Linked DNA regions of Homo sapiens: all the other regions are linked to region 1. Evidence: promoter capture Hi-C in 16 types of primary human blood cells and fetal thymus (Javierre and others, 2016). All regions are on one chromosome and are shown on one strand. Each heading gives the region's core, a stretch centred on a gene start or on the middle of the fragment in contact. The rest is flanking DNA. Distances are from core to core; before and after follow the strand shown.

Region 1 (5,084 bases), core at 1,897-4,396:
AACTCAGGAGTTCGAGACCATCCTGGCAACATGGTGAAACCCCATCTCTACAAAAGTACAAACATTAGCCAGGTGTTGTGGCATGTGCCTGTAGTCCCACCTACTCGGGAGGCTGAGGTGGGAGAATTGCTTGAGGCTGAGGAGGTCGAGGTTGCAGTGAGCCAAGATTGCACCACTGCATTCCAGCCTGAGCAACAGAGCGAGAGACCCTGTCTCAAAAAGAAAAAAAAAATTGAGATTTAGAGAGATTAATATCCTTAAAGTCACAACCAGAAGGTGACAGAGGATGGAACCCAGGACTGTTCCACACAGAGCATAGCCTCCTATATATGATACTATGCTGCCTCTCAACCATTTAACTGTGTGTGTATGCCTGTTTGTGTGTGTATGTGTGTATGTGCACACGTACACATTTATGTTGATAGAGAGCACCATGTGCCAATACTGTCCATTAGAAGGAAGAAATGTTACAGAAGAAGAGTTTCATTTATGTTTCTTATTAACAGACAATAATTTATTAGGTCAAAATGTACTGGCTACAAGTATCAATACATTTAAATATTTACTGAACTTTCATCCTTGTTAAAAATACAAAAATGAGAGAAGTGCACACACACTATAGAAAAACTAAAATATTATCATTGATTCATTGATACTCAAGATCCCTGTGAAAGCAAGAGTTTATTCCAAACAAATATACAGTAAGTTTAGACAAAAGAAGCATGAGCTAGACCCAGCAGAATCTCCTAAGTGATCTTTCTGCTGTGGCATCATCTAGATTCAGGTTTTTCTAACAGCAAATTTATCTGAATTACAACTAGCTACATAATAAATTACATATGGTGATGTACTGGATAATAAAACTAAAGAAGAAAAACTTGGGCTCATATGAATCAATTATTGTAACTTAGTTATGATTCCTTTATATATGTGGACTCTGGTCAATTACACTTACTCATGATACCCTTACAGATATGTGATTATCCTGAAAACTTAATGGAGTGGTTAGCCAGCTGTTAATTTCAAATTTCCCAGAAAATCATCTAATGTAAAACACTTTTTAAAAAGCATATAAGTTTATTTTTCCTCTTTTCTGCTTTGAGAAGATTTGGGGCAATTGACCAATGTTCTCTAGAGAAACAGCTCACCAGGAATCATCCTAATGGCTGGTGGATAAGACTTGAGAAGAATCACTGCATTCTGTATTGGATATTTAGAGAACAAATGGATGCTTGGGGAACATAACACTTGGAAAACTCGCCTATGGCTTCCAGATAGCTAAAATGTCCACATGCTTACTAATAGCAGAGGTATGTATATGAAGAAATTCCAGGTTGAATTTCACAGGTACCTGGATCAGAACTAGGTGGAACAGATTCTTTTACATACTTTGAGTAGCTCAGAAGCTAACCGTCTATTACAAGTGAAGACCCGTATTGCCATTTCAAAATGTCTAGTTTCTTACTATCAAAGTGCCACTGGAGGAGCCAGCAATACATGACTACAAGTACACGGGCTTTGGAATCAAATGTCTCTGAATGAAGTTGCGTTTCTGTCATCTACCCGCTGTGTGATCTTTGGCAAATGCCTTCCCTTCTGGAAGCTTTGCTTTCCTCAACGGGGTAATGAAGCTGTACCTTGCAAGGTATGATAAGTCAGTGGGATCATGTATATAAACTGCCTATCCCAGTGTCTGGCACTGGATAGGTCCTCAACAGTGTTAACTGTAGTTATCATCAAGAAAGTCATGATGAAGTATACTATAATATTGAGTCTGTTCAATATCTTGATAGAGACTGGGTGCAGTGGCTCACGCCTGTAATTCCAGCACTTTGTGAGACTGAGGCAGGTGGATTACTCGAGTCCAGGAGTTTGAGACCAGCCTGGGCAACATGGTGAAACTCCATTTCTACCAAGAGTTAAAAAAAAAAATTAGCCGAGTGTGATGGCATGCGCCTGTAGCTACTCGGGAGGCTGAGGTGGGAGGATTGCTTGAGCCTGGGAGGCAGAGGTTGCAGTGAGCCAAGACTGCACCACTGCACTCCAGCCTGGGCAACAGAGTGAGACCCTGTCTCAGAAAGAAAAACAATTTTGATAGACACAGGTGACCTTTATTCAGTTGATGTAATATCACTGTCAGAACATAAGGCCAGTAGATCAAAATACCAACCTGCTGCATACATGTAATCTAACAATGAGCTTTTATATTATTGGTATCAGTAATAACAGCTGATATTTACTGAGTCTATATTATGTGACTGTCACTAGGTCAAGTGCTCTGTCTGCAGTATCACATTTAATCACCACAGCAATCCTATAATTTGGATATGATTATCCCCATTTTATAGACAAAAAACCTGAAGCTTAGGAAGGAGAAATAAATTGCTGGAGATTACATGGCTACTAAGTGCTATCAATATAGTGGGATCTAGATCTGGTCTGAATCCACAACACAGGCTCTCACAACCGGGTTACACCTCCTCTTAATTGGTCACACCATTTAAAGAACAAAGAAAGAGAATCTCTTATTAGATGGACTGACCCTACTCTGAGTTAGGAAAGATAAAACACTGAGTTGCGTCTCAAAAGGCTTTAGTTAATGAACAGGAAATCACATATTCAGGCTTGAAGCTAAGACTTAACCTTGTAAATTTTCCTGAAGTGAGAGAAATAGTGACCGTGATGTCAGGCAAAAATCGCCACCACGTGTAACCCATTTCTTCCTTGTTTTGCCTTTAGTTAGCTTCAAGTTCTTTTTTCACATTGTATCTTTTAAATGTACCGTACGTGTGTTGTTAACAGCACACTCAGAATCATATCTTGGCATTAAAATTCCACGAAGTCCATTTTGAGAATCATATTACTACACCTATTTTTAGCTGTTAACACAAACCACTCTTTCCATTACACTTTTAAATTATCTACTGATAAAGTGACATTGAAAATAACTCTTGTTGCCAAATAAAAACCCTATATTTGGTTTAATCGGGCCAGACCCATTGACCGGCATTATGCAATTATATTACTAAGGCTGCTACCTGCCCATGCCCCTCTCCTCCTCCTGGTTTGGAACTACCCTCCCCATCTGCTGCTATATTTATCTGCCTTCTTGGCCATAAAAGGCTGGTTGTGTGGCCTGACATTCGACTGCCTGACCACATGCATTATTTTTGAACTGGCCCCCAGGGTCCTGTCTTTAGCCCTGCCTCTTAACATTGTCTTGGATTCAACCTAGGTGGAGTCTTCATTCTCTCATCCAGCTCCTCGGCCTCATCGGAACATTTCCACCACCATTACTCCTTTGGAAACTGGTAAGTGTGACACTGAGGCAGAAGAATGCACTTGATAGCTTATGAGCTTAGCAGCAGTGCAGTGTAAGTGCTTTCTTTCTGTCTTCTGAACTCAGCAGTTTTCTCAAAGAGATGTCAGAATAACAGAGAAATAGGAAAGTGAAGCTCCAGGGAGGGAAACCAGAACAGCCGGGTGCCAGTCGGGCTGGCACAGCTCTTCTCTCACATCACTGTATTCTTCTGAAATTAAGCTGCTGTTCCTGGAACTGTAAGGAGGTCATATCTGCCTCGGATTGAACTGTAAGCGTGTGTTTAATGCTATTTCCAAGTACGGTTTGGTTGAAATCTGAAATGGATGAGAGACAGGAGGCCCTGCATTTTCAATCCTGCATGTGCCATACAATGCTCCCTGGTTACAAATTAGACCGAAAGAAGGAAAATTAACTCTGAAGTCACTAGTTTATAATTCAGGGATCTTGCTGTGACGATGCAATGTGGATAAATGTGAGCGCGCACAATGATATGGCCTCAAATGGTTAAGTAATATTTCAGAGGCAACATAGAGCCCCACATAGTGATTTTTCTGGGAATCGTTTTCATCAGCTTCTGCCCTCTAATGCCTGCACAAAAGTATCATAAATTACAGCTATGGAATTTGTATTTCTTCCTAAATTCTCAAATTATTTTCAGAAAGAAAATTTAGGTCTTAAAGAAACAAAAGACACTAAAACCATCTTTCCTCCCAACGTACTCCAGCCGTCATGTGTTGGAGCTAATCCTGGCTTTAGTTAACTTCAAGGGCTTACTTGATGAAGAGGAGGTGGTTGTACCTTTGTTCCAGAGGTCAGGGCTGTGACAATCAGCAATGTGGGCTTCAAGTCAAACCCTGTTTACTTGTAACTTACTATCTATGTGAGAGGAATAGTAAGTATTATTAAAAATAAATGTATTTGGGAGAAATAGAAATAAAGAGAGTAAAAAATAGTATTGGGGCAAGATATTTAAAGATTTTATTTTGTGAAAATAACAGCATTTCAAGTCATCTGGGGAATGAATTTAGTTTATAACATAACAAGTTTCTTTATTATTTATTTGAAAAATCATTCAAATAACATGTGCCATGTTACAATGTAGTATCATAACAGAAACTTCTCTAATATCTTTATAACTGCCTAACGTAATTCTGTATTAACATTTTCTAACCCCTTTGTTTTATCAAAATTCATCTAGTAGTTATTAATTATACATGGTAATTATCCTCCATATTTTGTAACAGAAAATAGCCATCTATTTAAGGGTTGAAGCAAAGTTGCTTGCTAGTAGCTATTTTTTTCCCTTAGGAAATGCCCTGTAGACTGATATCTTCCATGAACCCTAAGATAAATATTTCTGGAGTGAAGTTTGCTCAGTTTTCTTCTCTGGGGAATACATGCTGACTTTTAAAATAGTTTAAATAAAAAGTAGTTTTAAACTTGACAAAGAATATGCTGAGTTTAGAAGGATTCATTCTTCATTTTGAATTTTTTTAAAAATGACATTTGGAGAAAACAGATCACTTTAAAACTAATTCTACAGCATTAAAACACTTGGGGGTGGAGCTTTTATAAAACTATTACTTCATCCAGGGTTGTCAACGTGGCTGATAGGCCTGCTTCAGTGGATAAACTATTCAAGAATGCTAAGGCCATGTGACATCTCCCCACCCTATGCTAAACAAACATACCTTTGACTTTTAGTAGAACTGCTAGCTCAAGTTCACAATGCCAGCTGTCACCCTGGGAATCGACTCTCTTA
Region 2 (5,084 bases), core at 1,689-4,188, 550 kb after region 1:
TAGCTGGGCATGGTGGTATGCACTTGTAGTCCTAGTCATTCAGGAGACTGAGGCAGGGGGATTGTTTAAGCTTAGGAGTTCGAGGCTACAGTGTGCTATGGTCACGTTACTGCAAAAAGGAAAAAAATCAAGAATATGGACCCTCGAAAGTCAAGTGAAAAAAGTATATCAAAAAGGAAGAAGTGACAAAACAATGTCAAGTAACACGTCAAGAAAAATTAGAACTGAAAATTAAAAATTTATCACTGGATTTAGCTGTTGGTGACCATAAGAGCGTGGGTACAGTAGAGTGGTAGGCGAAAACGTCTGGTCAGAGTAAGAAACAATGGGAGGAAGAGAAGGACTGCTAATAGCGAATGCATTCAACTCTCTGGAGGAGTTTTGCTATAAACAGGATCAAAAAATTTTAGGCAGTAGCCAGTGAAGGAAGTAAGACTTTAGTGTTTTTAAGATGGGAGAAGAGCTTTTTTGTACAAAAAGAACAACATGAGAGGTAATAAATATACTAGTTATATATTCAAGCTCTGAAGTCACTCTCCTAAAGTTTAAATGCTGGCTCCACTACTCACTAGTAGTGTAGCAAGTCACCTAAAATCTCTTAGCCCCAGTTAATTCTGCAAAACAGGATCTTTACCTATATTATTTCCTAACATTAGCTACCACACAGGATTAAGGAGTAAATGAGACAACGCTCATAAGTACTTGGTACAATGCCTGGCACTGTAGCCAATAGTAATGACAGCAGTGGTAGTGTTACATTAAGAAAGCACACACAGATTTAGTCACAAGAACATTCAGAGTCATTTGTAACCATAACACAATTAAAAACAACCTAAATGTCTAATAGAAGAACACTGTTCAGACCGGGCATGGTGGCTTATACCTGTAATCCCAGCACTTTGGGAGGCCGAGGCGGGAGGATCACTTGAGGTCAGGAGTTCAAGACCAGCCTGGTCAACATGGTGAAACTCCGTCTCTACTAAAAATACAAAAATTAGCCAGGCGTGGTGGTGCCTGCCTGTAATCCCAACTACTCGGGAGGCAGAGGCAGGAGAATCACTTGAACTTAGGAGGCAGAGGTTGCAGTGAGCCAAGATCACACCACTGCACTCCAGCCAGGGTGACAGAGAGAGACTCTGTCTCAAAAAACAAAAAAAGAAAAAGAATACTGTTCAAATAAATTATATTACCTAAATATTATCAAAATATACAGAGACATATATATTAAAAGATGTTCACTTTATTTTTAAACAAAATGTAGGTTAAAGAAGTATGCACCATATAAAACCATTAAAAATCAAATAATATGAAAAGGTCTGAAATGATAAACACCAAAGTGTTAGTGGTGGTTATGTCTGGGTAGTAGAGATATTCTTTATGTTCTATTTGCTTATCTATGTTTTCTAATTTCCTGCAAATACACATATAATGAGAAAAAAATAATTTTAATACAAAAGTTTACGATGAACATGTAAGTAGTATTAGACACTTTGGCAAGTCCTGAAAGAGAGGATTCAGTAAACTAATTGATTTGTAAAGATCACTAGCAAATGGTCCAGAGAAAGGACAGAAACTAGCAAGTAGTAAAGGTAGAAAGAAATGATAAAGACATGGAAATATGAACACAAACTTCTTACTTACGCAACCTAGCTATATGTATTTGCAAAGTAAAACAAGTATTTTCTTAATTGGGAAAGGTCTATGGGAGGCTAGGAAATCAGGAGAAGAGAGTATACAGGCGATGGAAAGCTGTATAGGTCAAGACCCCTTATGAGTTGAAAAGAAAAGTTCTACTAGTAGGTTAGCTTTAAAGGAGAGTTTTTTTTCACTGAAGATGACACAGGTAGAAGACATAATAATACCGTGATGAATTTGAGTAAGAAAGAAAATGAGTGGTCTTCTAATAAAGTGTAATAAGAAGATTTACAAAAAGTGAAGGAATGGGATACGTAATCAGGGGATAAAGGCAGGTAATAATTTATCAAAATTAGTATGAATGGGATACTTACGCAAAGGATTTTGTCCTTCACTGGCATAATATTCATACATGCCACTTTTAACCAGTGTGTCATAGTGAGGTAAGAAGTCAATTCGTTCTTTCGTAGCTGTCAGTAGTAACTGATTGACCGACTGTAGCAGGTATAAGGTGACTCCATCTTTAACAGTTTCATCTGTAATCAAGAGTGAAAATCATAAGTGCTAGGTCAGCATCAGAAACTCAATGAACTTATAATTGTGAATATACAAATTCTATCTATGAAATATCTTTAATGATGGTAAAGAAAAACCCCCAATCATCTACCTGTAAGCAAAGTCATGTTAAGGATATTAATGAAACAAGCACAAATACTTCCTTCCATTCATTTGAAACACTCAATTCTTAATAAGTTAAACTATCACAGGAAATCAGACGAGAATCTAAAATAGCGTAGTGTCAACATGAATGGAGAATGGTTAAATTCAGATGGAATCAGGCATGAAAAACCAGCAGGTCTTGGAAAACTAATTAGGTTAAAAAAAGATAATGGAATAATCCAAGTTGGTTAGCAAAATTAGCTTCAGAAGATTTGTGCTAGGCAGAATCATCTTCTGTAGCCATAACTGATATCAACTATTTTTCTATAATCAAGCTTGAAAAATATAACCTCTGTGCAGACTATGCACATGCAGCCAGTTTCCTCCCTCATCCCAACAAATTAACAAAAGTCATCAACAGATTTAGATGCATATCTAATAAAAGTTATTGCTATATATGTACTAAACCTTATTAAATATAAAAGCATCAACTTAGTAACACTGTTTACCTACCAAAATTATCACAGGTAATTTCTTTCCTACTTGTTGTTGTAATAACAAATTTTTCTTCAGGTGAAATGCCAAGTGTCTATCCAAAATAAGAAATAAAATCACTTATTACACAAAGGAAATAAATGTATTATTCAAATTTATAAAAATATGAAAATATTGATAGTACATTATAATTCTGTAACCACTACACTTATCTAGGAAATACAAAACTCAGTATATCTAAATTTTGCCTTTGCATAATTAATAGTGCATAAATCTATATAAATTACTTACTTAACAAGGTCATTTTTTCTGCTACTATAAGCAACCTAGGAACACTAGTGATTAGGTGGAACGTTTTAAAAGCATTTTAACATCATCAGCAGGACCCACCCAGACAAAAGACATAGTATTTCATACTAACGTACAAGTTATCAACTTATTTGGAACAAAGCTTTAACATAACTCATGTTCATATAGACTAGATATTTAAGTATGCAAAAACAAAATAGAAGAAAACAGAAGTTAGCATTTTATAGCACGGAGGGAAGAACAGCCATGCTTTGTAAGACATACAGGTCCATTCAAACGAATAACTTTAAAAATTAAAGCAAATTATAAATTAGAGGGAAACTGGCCAGGCATGGTAGCTCATGCCTGTCATCCCAGCACTTTGGGAGGCTGAGGCCGTCGGATCACAAGGTCAGGAGTTCAAGACCAGCCCGACCAACATGGTGAAACCCTGTCTCTACTAAAAATACAAAAATTAGCCAGGTGTGGTGGCGCACACCTGTAATCCCAGCTACTCAGGAGGCCAAGGCAGGAGAATCACTTGAACTGGGGAGGCGGAGGTTGCAGTGAGCCAAGATCACACCACTGCACTCCAGCCTGAGCAACAGAATGAGACTCCGTCTCAAAGAAAAAAAAAAATTAGAGGGAAATTGCAACAAGAAACAAAAGGGTGACAAGGATCAACAAAGAGAAAAAGTAAAAACACAAAAAAATGAAAAGGAGAAAATACAAATGACCAATGAACACATGAACTGTAAAATCACATTAATCAAAAAATGAGAATTAGAAAAGTGGTTAACATTTTCATTTACATTAGAATTAAAACATACATGCTCTGTCTAAAATGAAACAATACAGCAATATATAGTTAAGAGAAAAGGCTTCTGTTTCGGGTAGTAATGGACTAGTCTAAAGATTAACATTCTTATTGAAAACATCTAAAAAATCTAGACTAGTGATACTCAAATCTTCAAAAATGATATTAATAAAAACCATTATTGCTCACCACTGGGATGAGCTAGGGCACCAACTTGTCACTCTGAACACTGACAAATTAAAGGGAAAGAACAAATTATTTACACTGCTTTTCTTGTATCAATGGTACTTCAGGATAACCAAAATAGCTCTGGCTGATGAGGCAAAGTTGTTCCTTAAAGAATTCCAGCTAATAAACACAGGAGGAATGGCAAGTCAGATCAAAACTTCCTTATGGAGGAATCCTGCTGAAATCACGTGAATCCCAAGATTTTAATGTTAGCATTGCTATGAGTGGGTGAAACACCCACACATCACGTGCCTCCCAGTGTAATGCCATATGAAGTATCAGTACTACCTACAAAGCATTCTTTGCCTCCTGACCCCAAAGAAGTTGAACCTAAATCAAATCAAGCCTTTAAAGCTAACTTTTAGTTTACAGAATACATACGGAGATAAAACAAATTAAGTAACACCAAAAAAGAGCACAAACAAATCCATAATGTGGAATATTAAAGACCTAGTTGATTTCTTCAAGAGGTCAACTGCAGGAAAACTAAAGAGACTGGTGGAGGAGGAATTTGCTCAAATGCTTTAAATTGAAAATAATTAGGAAACAAAAAAAAAACAAATTTAATGTGAGGACTATGTCAGATCCTGATTTAAACAAACCAACTATAAAAAGATACTTTTAAACATTCAGAGAACTCAATATGGACAGGGACATTAGACAATATTAAAAATGCTTTATTTTAATGGTTTGATAATACATATTCAGGCTGAAGTATATGGGGTGAAATGACCTAAGACCTAGAATATGCCTTAAATACATTACAAAAACAAAAATGATCCTAGTGTGGTAAATTCCTATTAACTTGAATCTGGATGAGTACACTGGGGTTCATAACATGATTCTCTCTTTGTGTCTGAAGGTTTTCATAAGAAAATTTCTACTTTAAAATATCCTGGAATAGGCCGGGCGCGGTGGCTCAAACCTGTAATCCCAGCACTTTGGGAGGCTGAGGAGGGTG
Region 3 (5,084 bases), core at 1,474-3,973, 530 kb after region 1:
TGCTCTACAAATTCCATCTGGTAGGAGATGAAAAAACAAATGATTACAAAACAATATGCTATTATGTATGAAGATATGAACCAAGAGCTACAGAGGTAAAACGAGGGTGACAGTCACCCAGCAGATGACTGAATAATAACATTCCAGACAAATGAGAACATGAATTCAAGAGCATAAAGGAAACAAGGTAGTTTTAGGACATACGATAAACATGATAAAAGATGAAGCGGGATGGCTGAATTAGAGCAGTGGAAAGTGGGTGGAAGAGAGGATAGATGAAAGAAAATAATATAAAAGACAAAATTAAATGTGCTGAATGATTAACAAAAAGGATTACCAACTTTAACTGCATGGCTAGTGGATGCCAGTAATTGTAAAGGGTAGTTGAGAGGAAGACAGGAGAAGGAGAGAATAAGAAAGGTTTACGGATAATATTTGATCTCTTTCTTTTAAGAGACATGGTCTCTCAATGTTGCCCAGCTGGTCTTGAACTCCTGGGCTCAAGAGATTCTCCCTCCGCAGCCTCCCAAACTGCTAGGATTACAGGCATGAGCCACTGTGCCCAGCCAATATTTGACTTCAAAGGTACCAAAAGTGAGTTACTCCTCGAACACCTAAGAAAGAACATCTAATTGAACCTGGAAATGAGTGTACTGGATATGATCAGTTGGTATTCATCACCCATTCCTACCACCTTTTACTGTACTCTCTTGGGCTGCAGAGGTTGGAAGGCAAAAAAATACTGTTTGGATTGTGGATGCAAATTAGTTTTCACCAATTAGATGTACCAGCCAAAATGTGGATGCCAAAAATGAAGCAGAGGCTATTTCCTGAAGTTTTTTAAAAGTTTTGTGTTATCACACAAGGCACTGAAAGATCAGTAACCAGGTTTCAGGTTTAAAGTGTCAAAAGGCCACTGCAGCCCTAGTTATGGCCAGAAACTCTGTTTTCCAGTTTTGGAGCAATTGTGGCAGTGAGATCATTCCAACTCGTGGATCACAGATACAGCAGCGAGTTCCTGAATCCCAGACCCAGTGGTGGTCCTCTAACTGAATGATTATAGCAAATGTTGCAGCATCCCTCCAGGATAACTTCAGATTCCTGGCATCATTCTAGAAGGCTTAGCCCATAATTCATTCCTTTGGCCCTTCCAATAATCAGGTAAGCATCTAATTCCCTCTATTAAATATTTTCTGTTAAAAGGCCCAGGATGGTCTGTTTCCTTTACTGAAGCTAGCATGATTCAGTGTCTCAGTATTGAGAAAAGTTTTCACACGAAACACAGATTTGAGAGCTTTTGACATAAGTAGCAAATAACACATCTTTAGAAAAGGTAAGACTGTTGACTATAGAACAAGAACCACCAATTCCACCCACATTCTGAAAACTGCTCACAGATCAGAGATAGAAGTCCAACAAAAATAGGCTGGAAAAGACTAGTCAGAAAAGGAAACAGACCAGGTACTTGTTGGTACCCAAGAAATGTTTGTTGGGAAGAACTAAGCACAAAACACAGAAAAGGCTGGCAGAAAAATGGTGCTCCAAGAGACACAGTTGTATACAAGCTTTGTAATATGCACACAGTTTTGAAAACCACCTAAATTCTCAATTCCTATTTTTCACCAGTTTTATCATGGCAAGTAATATTTCCACCATTATATTTTATAGGGCTCTGTGGTGGTTAAGACAAGATGGAATACTGTTATGTAAAAATATCAAAATATGCAATTTGTTAAGTAAATGAAACAAAGAAAAGAAAGTAATGTCCTGCACAAAGGGTATATTAAGTTATCGAGAAAATAAAAGTGGATAATAAAATGGAAAAAAAAAATCCAACCCATCAACTAATGAAAGAAAAGGTTTTTTTTTTTTTTTTCAATTATCAAATGGCCAACATTTTGCTGCCCTCTCCCCTTCTCATTCTTTTGAAAAATAAATGATCAGAAATGTGCTTCCATACAGTTGTTGGAAGTGTATGTGACTTTGGGTTTAACCTTTCTGACAAGCAGTTTTGAAATACATGCCATGAACATTTAAAAAGTTCAAATTCAGGCTGGGCGTGGTGGCTCACACCTGTAATCCTAGCACTTTGGGAGGCCGAGGTGGGCGGACTGCCTGAGGTCAGGAGTTTGAGACCAGTCTGGCCAACATGGTGAAACTCCATCTCCACTAAAAAAAAAAAAAAAAAGAAAAAAATTAGCCAGGTGTGGTGGCATGTGCCTGTAATCCCAGCTACTCAGGAGGCTGAAGCAGGGGAATTGCTTCAACCAGGGAGGCAGAGGTTGCAGTGAGCTGAGATCATGCCACTGCACTCCAGCCTGGGCAAGAGAGTGAGACTCTGTCTCAAAAAAAAAGTTCAAATTCATTACCACAGCTATTAAAATTATAACAATCTAACCTAAGAAAAAAATCTGTAATTCAGGTAAGATGTTATGCAAAGATACTCATCGCAATGTCTTTACAATTACTGTAAAATCCTTTAAATAAGCCAAATGCTCAACAGAATCATGAAATTATGTTACATTCATTGAAGGAAATGTTATAAAGCTACTAAAAACCATTGTGTATCAAAATATTTTATAATGGGGAAATACTCAACATGTTAATTTTTTAAATGTGGGATCAAAACTATTAAGTATATATTTTAAAAAGCTGAATTAGAAGGAAATTCACCAAAATGTTTCAGTAGGCTTCTCTAGGACTTGGGAGTATTTTTATCTTCCTTAGGCTTTTCTATAAAGTTTCCTACAAGTTGTTTTAGAATCAGAAAGCCAAATTTTTAAAAGTTCAAAATTACCTTTTAAAAATTTTTTATTGTTTTTGAGACAGTCTTGCTCTATCGCCCAAATTGGAATGTAGTGGCATGATCATAGCTCACTTGCAGCTGGGCTCAAGTGATCCTCCCACCTCAGCCTGCTGAGCTGCTGGGACTACAGGCGCACACCACCACACCCGGCTTTTTTTTTTTTTTTTTTTTTTTTTAGTAGAGACAAGGTCTCCTATGTTACAGAGGCTGGTCTTAAACTCCTGAGTTCAAGCAATCCTCCCACCTCAGCTTCCCAAAGTACTGGTATTACAGGACTGAGCCACCATGCCCAGCCCAAAATCACTTTAAAATAAATATTTTCCCGTAATCCCAACACTTTGGGAGGCCAAGGTTGGAAGACTGCCTGAGTCCAGGAGTTCGAGGCTGCTGTGAACTGTGATAGCACCACTACACTCTAGTCCAGAGGGACAGAGTGAGACCCCATCTCTTAAAATAGTAAGTAAACTAACTTATATATTAAAGATTTTAGATTAAAAATCATGTTTCAGGCTGGGCGCGGTGGCTCACGTCTGTAATCCTAGCACTTTGGGAGGTTGAGGCAGGCGGATCACTTGAGGTCAGGAGTTCAAAACCAGCCTGGCCAACATGGTGAAACACTGTCTCTACCAAAACTACAAAAAAAATTAGCAGGGCATGGTGGCAGGCACCTGTAATCCCAGCTACTCGAGAGGCTGAGGCAGGAGAATATCTTGAACCTGGGAGGTGGAGGTTGCAGCGAGCTGAGGTTGCGCCACTGCACTCCAGCCCAGGAGACAGAGTGAGACTCCATCTCAAAAAAAAAAAAAAAGAAAAAAAATCATGTTTCAAACAAAGAAGAGTTGAAGGAATATACAATAAATATACCATTTACTTGCCACCAAGATTCAAATTTGTTAACATTTTGTCTTATGAACACAAGAATTTCAATGCAAACTTGTAAGAGCAATCTCTCATTTATTTCTCTAGAGGTCCAATTTCCTGAAAGTCCATTACCCTGTTACTGTTTTTCTACTCTATAATTTTATTATACAACAAAGATTTTAAAACCCAAATTCAGACCAGGGAAAAAAGCTTACAATCCTACAAGCAATTTACAGAAAGCTTAGTAAGCTTTATGAGACAACTTGTCTGAAGATTTTTGGCTTGAGAAAGCCCATTTTTGTTATTATGACTAAAGGAAAGGGTAACTCATTTTGAAAATTTCATACTTTCAAGTTAAGTTCTGTCCCACCGTCTATCCAAAGGAGTAAATTTATAATTATGAGTTAAAATGTATTGTACCTTTCTGTTTCTAATATATCCACTATATATTGCCTCTTTATTTTTCTCCTTCTTCTCAAAATCTTCTTTAGAAAGCACAAGCTCGTGAACATCTTGGGAATCTGCAGGTTTGCTTATCATCTGTTAAATATTAAAAAGAGTACTTTTTAAATTCCTAATAAACTGGTTAATGCATTTAGACAGAGTCAACTTCAAAATATTTTGATCAACTTTCATTTATAAGAAATCTTTTTACTTACTCTGGCTGATTGTCCAACAAAGAAGACAGCTTGCTTGCCCCCAACACCAAAATAGGAAATATCACTATTTAAACTGCGTGGCACTGGTACTGGACGAACATATCCTGAATGATCACTAAAATAAAACATTAATGCAGTGATTTTAAACAAGCTAGTTAAGTGTCAAAAGAAACTTTCATTGCACTTGTATTCAGTGTTAATAAAATGATCACGCCTGCAAACACCCCTAACTGAAAGGTGAAATAATCAGTGTCAAGACATCTACTCCAGTGCATCTCAAAGTGTAGTCCCCAGGCCAGATGCATCAGCTTTAGCTGAAAACTTTTAAGAAATGCAAACTCTTGGGCTCAATCCTACTAAATCAGAAAATCTCTCAGCAAACAGGACTAAATAAGTATTTTTATTATCCTCATGCCTCTAAAACTTTCCTTCAAAACTGTTTGCTACTTCAAAACTTGCTAAAATATTGTCTGAAGAATAATGGTAATTAGAGCAAAGGAGAGTCTCACTTCCATATATCATGATAAATGAAGAGCTCTGAGGGAACAGTGCACCATAACAATATTCTGAAGAAGAGGCATCACTGGTCTTTCAAAATGTAGGCAAAGTCTCCGGGGACATCATCCCCCATTATCAGAAATAAACAGAATGAAGGTGAGGCTGGAACCACTATTAAACTCAATGGAAAGATTAAAGAGCAGGTGTGACATAGCTGGAGAGAATTAGAGAACAGAAAGATGCAAAGAACGTAACCACAG

Evidence for each region. The method cuts DNA at HindIII sites, captures the fragments that hold promoters and counts their contacts. A CHiCAGO score of 5 or more calls a contact.
Region 2: a contact is called between a fragment that was not itself captured here and the fragment with the promoter of MYOM1 in region 1, in 1 of 17 cell types (megakaryocytes). The highest score is 6.7, in megakaryocytes.
Region 3: a contact is called between a fragment that was not itself captured here and the fragment with the promoter of MYOM1 in region 1, in 2 of 17 cell types (megakaryocytes and non-activated CD4 T cells). The highest score is 5.7, in megakaryocytes.

What each region holds. Positions count from the first base shown.
Region 1 is chr18:3,218,030-3,223,113 of GRCh38, reverse strand. It overlaps MYOM1 (myomesin 1), which reads left to right and starts at 3,146. Exons shown (of 38, transcript NM_003803.4): 1 at 3,146-3,311. RefSeq lists a silencer at 4,849-5,084. The HindIII fragment of the contact is 10,525 bases long and covers 2,366-5,084 here.
Region 2 is chr18:2,663,957-2,669,040 of GRCh38, reverse strand. It overlaps SMCHD1 (structural maintenance of chromosomes flexible hinge domain containing 1), which reads right to left. Exons shown (of 48, transcript NM_015295.3): 2 at 2,809-2,884; 3 at 2,010-2,171. Among named protein-coding and RNA genes, the nearest start is that of SMCHD1, 11 kb to the right of the region's middle. The HindIII fragment of the contact is 611 bases long and covers 2,633-3,243 here.
Region 3 is chr18:2,687,751-2,692,834 of GRCh38, reverse strand. SMCHD1 (structural maintenance of chromosomes flexible hinge domain containing 1) reads right to left here. Exons shown (of 48, transcript NM_015295.3): 6 at 4,327-4,441; 7 at 4,088-4,207. Among named protein-coding and RNA genes, the nearest start is that of SMCHD1, 35 kb to the right of the region's middle. The HindIII fragment of the contact is 2,312 bases long and covers 1,568-3,879 here.